Linked DNA regions of Homo sapiens: all the other regions are linked to region 2. The links are contacts of gene promoters, found by promoter capture Hi-C in blood cells and fetal thymus (Javierre and others, 2016). All regions are on one chromosome and are shown on one strand. Each heading gives the region's core, a stretch centred on a gene start or on the middle of the fragment in contact. The rest is flanking DNA. Distances are from core to core; before and after follow the strand shown. Region 1 has its middle 9.2 kb from the start of ARPC2. Region 2 holds the start of CXCR2 (C-X-C motif chemokine receptor 2). Region 3 overlaps ARPC2 (actin related protein 2/3 complex subunit 2).

Region 1 (4,278 bases), core at 1,468-3,967, 81 kb before region 2:
AGCTTTCTTCAGGCAACAGTAATCCCTGAAACTGGGGCAGAAGAGAAAATCTAATTTCAAGAGTTACAATTTTAATATTCAAAATTTCCAGTTCTCATCAGAAAATTATAAAGCATGCAACATAAAATGAAAGTATGGTTCATTCATAGTAAAAGGAATATAGAAAAAAATTGATAGAAACTATCCGTGAAGAGCCCAGATGTTGGATTTATATAAAAAGACTTAACTGTCTTAAATATGCTGAAGGAAAAAAGAAAAGAGCTCATGGAAACCATGAAGAATAGCTAAGGAAAATCGGGAGCATGGTGTATATACAAGCATAGAATATCATAAAGAGATAGAAATAATAAAAAGGAACCAAATAAAAATTTTGGAGCTGAGAAGTACAATAGCTGAAGTGCAGAAATTACTAGAGGGGGTCAACAGCACATTTGAGCAGGCAGAAGAAAGAATCAGTGAACTTGAAGATAGGGCAGTTAAAATTACCCAGTTTGAGGAACAAAAATAAAACAATTGAACAGAGCTTATTGGACATGTGGGACACAAATTAAGCATATCAAAACACACGTTATGGGAGTTACAGAAAGAGGAGAGAGAGAGAAAGGGGAAGGAAAAATATTTAAACAAGTAATGGCCATAAAGTTCCCAGATGTGGTGAAAGATGTGAATCAATACATCTAATAAGCTTGATAAACTTAAAGCAGGATAAACTCAGAGATTCACACTGAGACATATTATAGTCAAAACTGTTGAAAGCCAGAAATAAAGAGAAAATCTTTAAAGTGAAAGAGAGAAGTGACTCATTTACAAGTCTCCTGCATAAGAACAACAGCTAATTTTTCATCAGAAACCATGAAGGCAGTGGAATGATGATATCTTTAAAGTGGTGAAATAAAAAAACCTGTCAACCAGGAATATTATAGCCTGTAAAATGTTCTTTCAAAACTTGAAGGAGCCAGGCATAGTGGCTCACACCTCTAATTCCAGCACTTTGGGAGGCTGAGGCGGGTGGATCACCTGAGGTCAGGAGTTCGAGACTAGCCTGTTCAACATGATGAAACCCCGTCTCTACGAAAAATACAAAAATTAGCCAGCTCTGGTGTCTTGTGCCTGTAATCGCAGCTACTCTTGAGGCTGAGACAGGAGAATTACTTGAACCTGAGAGGTGGAGGTTGCAGTGGGCCAAGATTGGGACACTGAACTCCAGCCTGGGTGAGAGAGGGAAAATCCATCTCAAAAAAAAAAAAAAAAAGACAGCCAAATACCACATATTCTTACTTGTAAGTGGGAGGTAAACATTGAGTATATATGGACACAAAGAAGGGAACAAGAGACACCGGGGCCTACTTGAGGGTGAAGGGTGGGAGGAGGGTGAGGATCAAAAAAACTACCTATTGAGTATTATGCTTATTACCCGCACATGTACCCTGAACCTAAATTAAAAGTAAAAAAAAAAAAAGAAAAAGAAAATAAATAGCATGATAGTAGAGGTAAGTTCTTTATTATCGATAATCATTTAAAATGTAAATGGATTAAACAATTAAAAGACAGAGATTGGCAAAATAAATTTTTTTTTTTTTTTGAGACAGAATCTTGCTCTGTCGCCCAGGCTGAAGTGCAGTGGTACGATCTTGGCTCACTGCAACCTCCGCCTCCCGGGTTCAAGCGAGTCTCCTGTCTCAGCCTCATGTGTAGCTCGGACTACAGGCACATGCTACCATGTCCAGCTATTTTTTTTTTTTTTTTTTTAGTAGAAATGGGGTTTCACCATGTTGGCCAGGCTGGTCTCAAACTCCTGACCTCAAGTGATCTGCCCGTCTTGGCCTCCTAAAGTGCTGGGATTATAGGCGTGAGTCACCACAACCTCAAGTGATCTGCCCGCCTCGGCCTCCTAAAGTGCTGGGATTACAGGCGTGAGCCACTGCACCTGGCCAGCAAAATGAAGTTTTAAAAAATGATCCAACTATATGCTTTTACTAGAGACTAACTTAAGATCCAAAGATGCAAATAGGTTGAAAATCAAAGAATAGAAAAATATATTCTGGGACTGGGCACAGTGGCTCATACCTGTAATCTCAGCACTTTGTCTTTTGTTTTTTTTGAGACAGAGTCTCGCTCTGTTGCCCAGGCTGGAGTGAAGTGGCTCACTGCAACCTCTGTCTCTGGGGTTCGAGTCATTCTCCTGCCCCAGCCTCCCGAGTAGCTGGGACTGCAGGTGGGTACCACCACACCCCAGCTAATTTTTTTGTATTTTAAGTAGAGATGGGGTTTCACCATGTTGGCCAGGCTAGTCTCGAGCTCCTAACCTCAAGTGATCCACCCACCTCAGCCTCCCAAAGTGCTGGTATTACAGGCATGAGCCACCATGCCTGGCCAGTCCCAGCACTTTGGAAGACCAAGGCAGGAAGATCACCTGAGCCAGGAGTTTGAGATCAGCCTAGGTAACATGGCAAGACCCTGTCTCTACTAAAAATAAAAAAAATTAGCCAAGAATGGTGGTGCACACCTGGTTCCAGCTACTGGAGAGGTTGAGGTGGAAGGATTGCTTTAGTCCGGGAATACTATGCAGCCATGGCTGCAGTGAGCTATGTTTGTGCCACTACATTCCAGTCTGGGTGGCAGGGTGAGACTGTGTCTCTGAAAAAAAAAAAAAAGATATTCTAGGCAAACTGTAACCAAAATAGAGCTGGAATGGCTATGCTAGTATCAGAAAGAATATATTTTAAGTCAAGAATTGTTATAAGAGACAAAAAGTGTTTATATTGATAATAGGATCAATTCATCAGGAAAATATAATAATTATAAACATATACACATCAAACAACAGAGTCCAAAATATATAAAGCAAATATGGACAGAATTAAAGGGAAAAATAGTTCTACGATAATAGTTGGAGACTTCAATGTCCTACTTTCAATAATAGAGTGAACACCTAGACAGAAGATTGGCAAGGAAATAGAGGACTTGAAGAACATCATAAACTAACTAGACTGCAGATAACACAGATCACTCCACATAACAACAGCAGAATATACTTCTCAAGTGTACATGGAGCAGTTTCTAGGATAGAACATATGCTAGGCCAGAAAATGATTCTCAATACATTAAAAAAATCAAAATCATACAAAGTATCCTCTTCAACCACAGTGGAATGAAGATACAAATAAATAGCAGAAGAAAAAAACTGGAAAATTCACAAAGACAGGGAAATTGAACAACACATTTTTAGCCAATTTAAAGAAGAATTAACACCAACTCTACTCAAACATTTCCAAAAAATGGAAGAGGAACGAACATTTTCTAACACATTCTATGAGGCCAGTATTACTCTGATATCCAGACAAAGATGCCATGAGAGAAGCGAAATTCAGGCCAATATCTCTATGAATAGACACAGGAATCCCCAACCAAATGCTAGCAAACTAAATCCAATAGCACTTTATAATAATTGGCTGGGTGTGGTGGCTCGCGCCTGTAATCCCATGACTTTGGGAGGTTGAGGCAGGAGGATCGCTAGAGGTCAGGAGTTTGAGACCAGCCTGGCCAACATGGGGAATGCTATCTCTACAAAAAAACAAAAATTAGCTGGTGTGATGGCATGTGCCTGTAATTCCAGCTATGGAGGCTGACACATGAGAATCACTTGAACCCTGGAGGCAGAGGTTGCAGTGAGCTGAGATTGCACCACTGTGCTCCAGCCTGGACAACCAGAATGAGACCCTGTCTCAAACAAACAAACAAACAAACAAACAAACAAACAGAATCACATACCATGTCTAAGTGGAATTTATCCCAGAAACCAAGAGTGGTTCAACACAAGGAAATCAATCAATGTGATATGCCACAATAATAAAATGACAAGAAAAAACATGGTCATCTCAATAGATGCAGAAAAAGCATTTGATAAAATTCAGCACCTTTTGATGATAAAAACTCAGAACACTGGAAATAGTAGGTGCTATGATTTGAATGTATGTGTCCCTCCAAAATTCATATGTTGAAACTCAACCCCAATGCAATAGAATTAAGATGTGGGTCCTGAAGGAGGTTATTAGTGCCCTCATAAAAGGGCTTGAGAGAACTAACTGGCTCCCCTTTCCCCTTTAATCTCTTCTGCTACGTGAGGACACCGTGTTGGTCTCCTTTTGCCCTTCTACCTTTTCCTGCTTATTGTGAGGATGCCTCAAGAAAATGCTATATATGGAACAGGCCCTCACCAAACACCAAATCTTCTGGCATTTTGGTGTTGGACTTCCCAGCCTCCAGAACTGTGAGAAG
Region 2 (4,650 bases), core at 2,081-4,580:
TGGGCTTTTCACCTGTAGGACACCTCCAGAAGAGCAGCTGTGACCTATGAAAGGGAGGTGGTGGTGAGAACACAGTGGAGGAAGTGAGTGGTAGATTAGATTGCTCAATGCAATTCAGGGGTGGAGCTCCTGAGGGTGCGGGTGATTTTGATAACTTTGAATAATTAGTTCCCAGATCAGCTCTCGGATGCATAGTCATTTCATAGACTCGTAGAGTTTATATTGGGAAGGGACCTGAGGGGTTTTCTACCTAGTCTTTCCATTTTACAGATGGGGAAACTGAAGCCCAAAGGAAATGGCTTGCCCAGGATTGCATGGATTTCTTTCATCTTTGCTGTATCTCAGAGCCGCTGGCTCCTTCAGCTGCCTTGTCTGAGTCTCCTGGCATTCCAGCTGCCTCAGGCTTCCCCATCATACCATTGGCAGTACTATAGCCTTCAATGTCTTTCACATGTCAAAGGGAGCAGTGCATTAAAATGACAGAGATGGACTAAAGCTTCTGGTGAGTCTGGTGGCGTTCCTCCCTGGACCTGATGCCTCTACTTCTTGGCCCCACTCCTGCCTCTTGTCTTTCCCCTCACTCCCCAACCATCTGCTCTGACCACAAGTCCATCTCTGGGTATTGATATTCTTTCTTGTTTCGCACACTTGGCATTGGGTCTGAGGACACCAACTCTGCAGCAGCTTACCACCCTTGGAGCCAAGACCCTCTAATTTGGAAAGAAAGCCTTTTGGTAAAAGGGAAGATTCCACCAAAGTCCAAATGCATTTTTAAAAACAATGTTAAGTGACCCTAAGAATGTATTTTATCAATTTGCTATTGATTACAAATGAATGAATTAATCCAGGCAGAGCCATGAACACTAATTCTGCTGTCTCACAAGTGCCCACCCCAGTGAACAACACCTCAATCCCCTCCATTATTCCTTACCCTATCTCTTGCTCCATGCATCCCAGGGCCCAGAGGGGACTCAATCCCTGTGGCAGACGCACTTAAATTGCCTGCCTACCCCAAAGAAAGAATCTTTGAGTCCAACTGTTCAGCAAATGTTTCTTAGTCTTTGTCACCTCTCTTTCCCAAGCTGGGGAAGAATGCAATGCCACCTGGCCAGTTGATGCTAAAACCAGATAGAGGCTTATTACATATGGAGAGAGGCAGATGACACCAGGGCTAGCTGAGCAATTCTGGGCAAGTGACTTTTCCTTTCTGAGTCTCAGTTTACTCATCTGTAAAATGGGGCCAATACAGAATCCAACTCATGGGGTTGTGGTGAGGATGAAATGAGGGATTGCTTGTAAATCACGTAAAACATACATAAAGTACAATGTTAACCTTTATTGTTGTGATCATTATTACTGGAATAGTTTATTCACTGATAACATGCTGCCTCTCTCACTACATCCCCAGTCAAGGGAAAGCAGTCGGCAGTGGGTCTGCTTTCAAGGCTGACTTTGATGACATCTAATTTACTTTGACCTGGATATTAATTGTCATATTAGCTGTAATGTTGAGTGTCTACCAGGTTCTAGCTTCTGGGCAAAGTGCTTTCCAGAATTTGTATCAATTAATCCTCAGGATAACCTCACGAAGCAGGCACTTTCTGGAAGAGGAAATGAAGACTCTGAGAGGTTAAGCAACATACCTAGAGTGACACAGCTGAACTAGGTTTTCAGTTTAAAAAACTTCTAAAAATCTGCTCTCAAATCCTATCTCCTGTTCACTGTAATAAGGAGCAGGATCCCAGCCTAAAGTTTCTGAGCTCCATTAGGTACCTCCCTGTGTCCCAGAAAGTCAGATACAAAGGATGTAGAGAGGGGAGCCCAGATTTGACATTTCCCAGTCAGCCTCCTTCTTCATGCTCCTTAGGTCAATTTCATTTCCATGGAGATCACTGCGGTTATATGCAGGGTGGAGTGAATTAAAAAACTGGCTTCTGGTGCGGTGGCTCATGCCTGTAATCCCAGCACTTTGGGAGGCTGAGGTGAGTGGATCACTCGAGGCCAGGAGTTACAGAACAGCCTGGCCAACATGGTGAAACCCCGCCTCTATTAAAAATGCAAAAATTAGCCAGGCGTGGCAGCGCACGCCTGTAATCCCAGCTACTCCAGAGGCTGAGGCATAAGAATTGCTTGAACTCGGGAGGCAGAAGTTGCAGTGAGCCGAGATTGTGCCATTGCATTCCAGCCTGGGCGACAGAGCAAAACCCTGTCTCAAACAAAAACAAAACAAAAACCTGGCTTCTAATCCTGCTTGGAGAAGTCATTCTTTCTGGGCCTTGTTGTGTGCCTTTGGAAAACGGGAGCTTCTTCTAATTCTATTCTGTTCAGCATGCTAGCTACTAGCCATGTGTAGCTATTTAAATTAAAATTAATTAAAATAAAGGCCAGGCAAGGTGGCCCATGCCTGTAATCCCAGCACTTTGGGAGGCCGAGGTGGGCGGATCGCTTGAGCCCAGGAGTTTGAGATCAGCCTGGGCAACATGACGAAACCCTGTCTTTACAAAAACAAAAACAAAACAAACAAACAAACAAAACCCAAAAAATTAGCTGAGTGTAGCGGCACATGCCTGTAGCTGCAGCTACTTGGGAGGCTGAGGTGGGAGAATCACCTAGACCTGTAGGTTGAGGTTGCAATGAGCCAAGATCATGCCACAGCACTCCAGCCTGGGCATTGGAGTGAGAGCCTGTCTCAAAAAAGAAAAAATAAAATAAAATAAAATGAAATAAAAATTGAGATCCGCAGTCACACTAGTCACATTTCAAGTGCTCCGTGGCCACGTGTGACTAGTGGCTACCATACTGGGCAGGGCAGGTCTAGGACATTTCTATTATTGCAGAAAATTCTTTTGTGCAACACTGTCTAGGTGAAGACTTAGTTGTCTTTAGCTCTAAGCTTCTACACTTCATCACCCCAGTTCTCAGGGGCCTCAGAGGAGGCTGAAGTTTCCAGATCTCTTCCATTAGAAATATGTTGCCAGCATCTCAGACTGAACAAGTCACCTACCTGCTGTTATTGGAGTGGCCACCGATGTCTTCACTGTGCCTCAAGGTTGGGTGGTAGTCAGAGCTGTTAGACAGGAAAAAAAAGATGAAACAACCTTGACGATGAAACTTCTGACCTGGGTTGCAAGGGGGAAATCCAGGATGCCCTCCTGGGGAGGTATTCCCACAGAGGAACAATGAGGTCTGTCCTGGGACTTTGGCCCAGGACAGGTGCCACTTAGTGATTCTGGGATGAGTGCTGGGGATTTTCACATCTTCCTGTCTGATGGCTTCTGGAGGAGCCTACCAGTCTGAAGGTGGAGATTTGTCTATCCACCTTCTGTCTCTGAATGTTTTGAACCTGCACTTCCTTTTTTAACAAGGAAGATGCAGGCATCCCAGCCCCCGCCAACGGACTTGTCTGAACTCGCACGCAGTTTCTTCCTTCTTTCCGGGGTCAGAGTGAGAAGCGTCCCTCCTTCTGTTTCTGTTGAATCCCCGCACCTGACTGTGGGACCCACTGCCTCTCTGGTCCTTGAGGATCCTGCTTTCTCTCCCCTCTGTCCTGGCTCTTTCCCTTCTACCACATCTTACTTATGGCTTTATCATGCTCCCTCTGTCCTAGCACCCTTCAGCCACCACAGCTGCTCTCTCCACTTCCTCACCTCCCCTCTGCTGCTCAACAAAGACACTGCAACTGGCTTCCTTCCTACTGCTCCACTGAAATAACTTTCGCCAAGGTTCCCAATGACCTCTGGGTTACTAAACCCAGCAAATCCATTAAAAAAAAAAACAAAAACAAATTGCTTTCTTTCCCCCCAAGACAACAGATTGGAGGCAGCATTAGCATGCCTCTCCCATCTGGAAGGACAGAATAGCGTGTAGAGATTCACACTATAATTTTTTTTTCTCCAGGAACGAATGCAGGAACTGAACAGGAAAGCTGAAAGAATCCACAGAACTTTTGAAAGAAGTGGCAGGCTGCAGCCTACTCTGTGAGACAGGCAAAAACTCACCTCTAGGCAGAATAGCACTGTACCCAGGAAGGAGAAAACGGCTGCATATTCTCAGCTATCACCACTGCTTACAACACCCTGGCTAACCAGAAGTCCTGCGTCTGTCCACGTGATAAGTTCACTATAATTATAACCAGCATTTGAGAAAGTCAATACTCTAAGTCTATCTACAACCAAGGAATCTTGCAGAGTTTGCATCACTCCCCTCCCACTTCTGTCAGAGATGGTGCTGGTATTCACTGCTGGGAGTCTTGAAGACAGGTAACACCACTGGATCCCTTGCAGACATTCCCTAGCACCAGCCCAGAGTCTGGTAGGCCCACTGGGTGGCTAGACCCAGAAGAGCACTGTAGTCTGGCTTCCAGGAAGTCCCATTCCTAGAGGAAGGGGAAGAACATCACATCAAGGGAATACCCTGTGGAACAAAAGAATCTGAATGGCAGGGCTTGAGTCCCAGATCTTTTCACTGGTGGGAAGTTTCCTATTGCAGAGACAATTGCTGTGCTGGGCAGAGTGGGGGAAAGTTTGCACCTCTACCCAATAGGCAGGCAGCCTCTGGTATTGTGAAGGGTCTTAGAGAAGGGATCCTTGTTCCCCCTGGTACGCCACTGCAGACAGAGCTGGGGCTTCTCCCAAAGGAACGCAGCATTGA
Region 3 (5,023 bases), core at 2,298-4,797, 100 kb before region 2:
AATGCCACCTGTAGTTCCTATTTGGTGATTGCACAGCCACTGTGAGGTATTTCTTTTACCGAAGAGGAATTGAGAGGAGGGGCTCAAGGTCACGAGAGTTTCTTGGTGGCACAGAGAGACTTGACCTTCAGGTGTCTGATATACCACTTCTTTAAAAAAAAGTAACATGCATATCCCAAGAATTTGAAACAGCATGCGACCTCTGAGCTACAAGTCTGTGTTGCACGTACTATTGGTATTTCGAGGAAGGGGAAATCAGATGTGGTGGGGATTTAGTTTAAATCCCTAAGTCCCTAAGATTTAGTTTAATTTCAAGCTTACTAAGTTAATATTCTGAGATCTAAGAGGTACTGAGAGCCAAATTTATATCATGTTCAACTGCTTTGCTCCCTCCCCTTGGTAAAACCAGCCAACACTTCCTTGTCACTTCACTTGCACTTTTAACCATGATTCACTTTTCAGTTTGTACCCCCTCTCCCAATGACACCAGGAGATGGGTGGAGGCAACCTATCACTCATCACCATTACCTTCCCACTCTAGCAGCAGAGGCATTCCACCTTTAAAAATGGCCTGTGACAAAGTAATAACCTTCCTGTGGTTATCATGGGTTGGTCACTGTTTAACCAACCCAGGGAGCCATTTACTGTGCACTCTGCTCCAACACTATGAATGTTACTTACTCCACCCACTTGAGTGGGTGGGGCTGGTTCTTTGACCCTTGTGGTAGCTACAAGAATAGCAATGTGTTCTGGAGCTCCATCGTAAGAAAAGCACAGAATGGAAAGGAGATTTAAGAAATCTAGCTTAACTCTTTCTTTCCAGGATTATTATTATTGCATTTAGATCTTTTCCTTTTTTTGAGGTGGAATCTCACTATGTCGTCCAGGCTGGACTTGAACTCCTGGGCTCCAGCAACTCTCCCCACTTGAACCCCTCAAGCCAACTGTGTGAAGTCCCAACACACAGTTGGCACTACAGGTGTGTGCCACTGTGCAGGCTTGCACCTAGTGAAGACTGTCTAGGGGAGAATGATTACACAATTTAAAAAAAGTCTATTCAAATATTTTAACACTTCTTTTCAGGTAGTTATAGCTGATCCAAAGCAGCGATGCAGCTGGACATGGTGGCTCACATCTATAATCCCAGCACTTTGGGAGGCCCAGGAAGGAGGACTGCTTGAGCCCAGGAGTTTGAAACTAGCCTGGGCAACATAGTGAAACCTCCTCTCTCTAAAGAACAAACAAACAAAAAATAAGCCAGGTGTGGTGGCACGTGCCTGTAGTCCCAGACACTCAGGAGGCTGAGGTGAGAGGACTGCTTGAGCCTGGGAGGTTGAGGGGTGCAGTGGCTGTGATTGTGCCACTGCACTCCAGCCTAGGTGACAGAACAAGACCTTGTCAAAAAAAAAAAAAAAAAAAAAAAAGAAAAAAAAAAGAAAAGGCTGGGCACGGTGGCTCACACCTGCAATCTTAGCACTGTGGGAGGTCGAGGCAGGCAGATCACCTGAGGTCAGAAGTTTGAGAGCAGCCTGGCCAATGTGGTGAAACGCCATCTCTATGAAAAGTACAAAAAATTAGCCAGGTGTAGCGGTGCATGCCTGTAATCCCAGCTACTCAGGAGGCTGAGGCAGATGAACTGCTTGAACCCAGGAGTTGGAGGTTGCAGTGAGCTGAGCTGGCGCCACTGCAGTACAGCCTGGGGCAACAGAGTGAGACTCCACCTCAAAAAAAAAAAAGAGGCAGGGCTGCTTTAATAGCCATTTGTTTTCTTTCACTCTTTATCTGGTAAAGAAGTGTCAGCCACTATCTTTTACAAAACAATTCTTCATAAGCTTTATAAAAGCACTAGGTCTTCTTTCTGAAGCTTTTCTTTTTCCAGTAAACTAATCTGGATTCCAAATCCTCTAAATATTTCTTCTTTCTTTGAACTTATGAGAAAATCAATTGCATTTGAATAACTAAGGGAAGCAACCAATGGCTCTTGGTATTAAGACTAATTTTAGTTTTTATGCTAAAAAATTAAACAAGCTTTTGACCATATTCCTTTACAAATCATCTTTTATTATATAAGTTTTAAATAATTCAAAAGCTACTACTTTTCAGAAAGAAACAGCTATGGTTATATCTTCATTTAACAGATTAAGGAGAACCTAGTTTGTTAAAACTAAGAAATTTGAAAACTGATTCAGGAACTGAGTCATATTTCCTGCTTTGAGACCCAACCACAGCGTGCACAAACTGGTGTAATAGCATTTTCTTTCTTCCATAAATGGCTCTCCTCAGAGCAAATACAGTTCAACAGGAACCAAACCTGCTACTTAACTATTTAAAGAAGCCAGTGAACAAGGCATGGCCACCGAAGTTTCATAATGTCTGGACATCTTTCTTATTTCCCCTATGGTAGTTATAAAGAAGAGATATTTAAAGACGGTAGCTTTAAAGAGCTTTAATTAAAAATTTCAAAAGACAGCTATTTGTGCCTAAGCCTCCAGAATGAGAACCTGAGACTATAAAATTTAAACAAGCTAGAAGTTATCTATCTGCCTTGATAATATTACAAAAATAGAACAGAACCTAATTCTTGCAACAGCTATTTTTGTACTGATCAAGGAAAAGTATTCTTTGCTATGTTTTTGGAGAACTAAAGCTATTTTTGTTTCCATTGTTTTAAAGCAAGCAAGCAAGAGTCAAAACCTTTTCTAGGAAACACAATTCATTATAGGAATCAAGTCAAGAGCCCCTAGTTAGGTGAGCAAGTAGTCATGTGGGGGTGATTTAGTGCCATGGATCTTCCATGAATGGCAAACTGCCAATGAAAGGTGAGGAAACAAGAGTCCCAAGGAAAATGATGTGGATCTTACCTCATCAGCACCATGTGCCTGAAGTTCCTTGTAGAATTTCAAAGAAATACTGACCATCACTTTTGTTTTGTCTCCATTAGGATTTGAAATATGATAGAGGACCCCATCGAAATCTGTGAGGAAAGCAAATAAGATTGCGTAACAATTTGGGAATGGGAAATAATCTCTCCAAGCGCCTACCTTGCCGTAGGCCACAAGGAAGACCACTTTTAAGGAGGCATGTAAGTAAAATGGAACTTATTTTAAATCCATGTGACAAATCAGCAGAAACACTGGGATAGAATTGCTGAGCACTTGTTTCTTTGCTCTTTCTTAAAATTACAAAGCTATTCTTTCCTTAATCACAGCTTGGTGCTGAAATAATTGGATTTTACATGTATATAAGCAGAACGAACAGTATAATGAACTCTCATCTCCATCATGAGGCTTCAACGATTTTTTTTTTTTTGAGATAGAGTCTTACTCTGTCACCCAGGCTGGAGTGCAATGGTGTGGTCTCGGCTCACTGCAACCTCTGCCTCCCAGGTTCAAGAGATTCTCCTGTCTCAGCCTCCCGAGTAGCTGGGACTACAGGCATGTGCCACCACACCCAGCTAATTTTTGTATTTTTAGTACAGACGGGGTTTCACTGTGTTGGCCAGGCTGGTCTCGAACTCCTGACCTCATGATCTGCCCACCTCAGCCTCCCAAAGTGCTGGGATTACAGGCGTGAACCACCTTGCCCAGCCTCAACAATTATTAACACATGGACAATTCTTGTTTCATTTAGACATCCTCCTTCCCATTGATTTATTTTGAAGCAAATCCCAGATACAACACATAATTTCATCCATAAATACTCAGAATATATCTTTGGAAGATACAGAAGACTATTTGTTAAAAAACATAACCATGATACTAGTGTCATGCCTAAATTTTTAAAAACAATTTCTTAATATCAAATATTCAGTCAAGGCCGGGCACAGTGGCTCAAGCCTGTTAACCCAGCCTGTTAACTTTGGGAGGCCGAGGTGGGTGGATCACTTGAGGTCAGGAGTTCAAAACCAGCCTGGCCAACATGGTGAAACCCTGTCTCTACAAAAATTACAAAAAATTAGCTGGGTGTGGTGGCACATGCCTGTAATCCCAGCTACTTGGGAGGCTGAGACAGGAGAATCGCTTGAACCCGGGGGGTGGAGGTTGCAGTGAGCCAAGATCATGCCATTGCACTCCAGCCTGGGCGACAGAGCAAGACGCTGTCTGGAAAAAAAAAAAAAATTAGCCGGGTGTGGTGGTGGAGATCTGTAGTCCCAGCTACTTGAGAGGCGGAGGCAGGAGAATCGCTTGAACTCGGGGAGGTGGAGGCGGCAGTGAGCAGATTATCAACGCCACTGCACTCCAGCCTGGGTGACAGAGTGAGACTCAGTCTCAAAAAAACAAAACAAATATTCAGTCAAGTATTTAAATATTCTCTACTGTCTCAAAAAATTTTAAGCATTGTTGTCTTATTTGAATTAAGATGCAAACAATATCCACACATTGCATTTGGTTATCTTTTGAGTTGCTTCTAATCTATAGGACTCCCCTCTTTTTCGGTTCTATCTTTCTGCAGTACACAGGACTGACTCAGCCTGTGTAATTCCTGAAACTAGGAATAGGTTCCTGAAACTAGAATTAGGTGCTGAGTGCCATCACTTTATGGAGCTGTCATGGGAATCACGAAGGGATATCTGGCAATGCCAGTTAGTAGGAGGGTAAAGGGATGGTGCCTGGCCTCCAGGTAACAGCACTTCAGAGCTGCAAAAGTCTTCCAAGATCATCTTGTCGAGGACTCTTGTTGTAGAAAGGGTGGTTGTATTCCTCTGAGTTCATTCACCTAACAAGTAAATAGTACCAACACCTAATTCTTTATAGGGAACAGAAAGCAGCAACATCTCTCTCTGACTTGATGAACACATCTCTAGCTGTTCATGTTTCCCTACTACTCTAGTGCTAGGCAAACTAAGACTGACAGCTACTTGAAGATAATGTAATATTTCCAAATTAAAAAAAAAACACAACAAAAAAACCTCAGTTTTACCACAAAATTAAATCCAAACTTCTAATTTATCAGCAGGTAACTTTATATTGTCAGTCATCAGTGGATTAAATACATGAAATGGTCATCTATTATAAAGAGCTCA

The links. Contacts are between HindIII fragments. The CHiCAGO score rates a contact against its expected background, and 5 or more counts as called.
Region 1: a contact is called between a fragment that was not itself captured here and the fragment with the promoter of CXCR2 in region 2, in 1 of 17 cell types (neutrophils). The highest score is 6.6, in neutrophils.
Region 3: a fragment that was not itself captured here is called in contact with the fragment with the promoter of CXCR2 in region 2 in 1 of 17 cell types (neutrophils); the score reaches 9.1 in neutrophils.

Annotation. Positions count from the first base shown.
Region 1 is chr2:218,205,871-218,210,148 of GRCh38, reverse strand. No RefSeq gene overlaps it. Among named protein-coding and RNA genes, the nearest start is that of ARPC2, 9.2 kb to the left of the region's middle. The HindIII fragment of the contact is 4,060 bases long and covers 688-4,278 here.
Region 2 is chr2:218,124,708-218,129,357 of GRCh38, reverse strand. It overlaps CXCR2 (C-X-C motif chemokine receptor 2), which reads right to left and starts at 3,330. Exons shown (of 3, transcript NM_001557.4): 1 at 3,005-3,330; 2 at 1-44. The HindIII fragment of the contact is 2,247 bases long and covers 2,896-4,650 here.
Region 3 is chr2:218,226,689-218,231,711 of GRCh38, reverse strand. ARPC2 (actin related protein 2/3 complex subunit 2) reads right to left here. Exons shown (of 11, transcript NM_152862.3): 4 at 2,862-2,974. Among named protein-coding and RNA genes, the nearest start is that of ARPC2, 12 kb to the right of the region's middle. The HindIII fragment of the contact is 3,033 bases long and covers 2,031-5,023 here.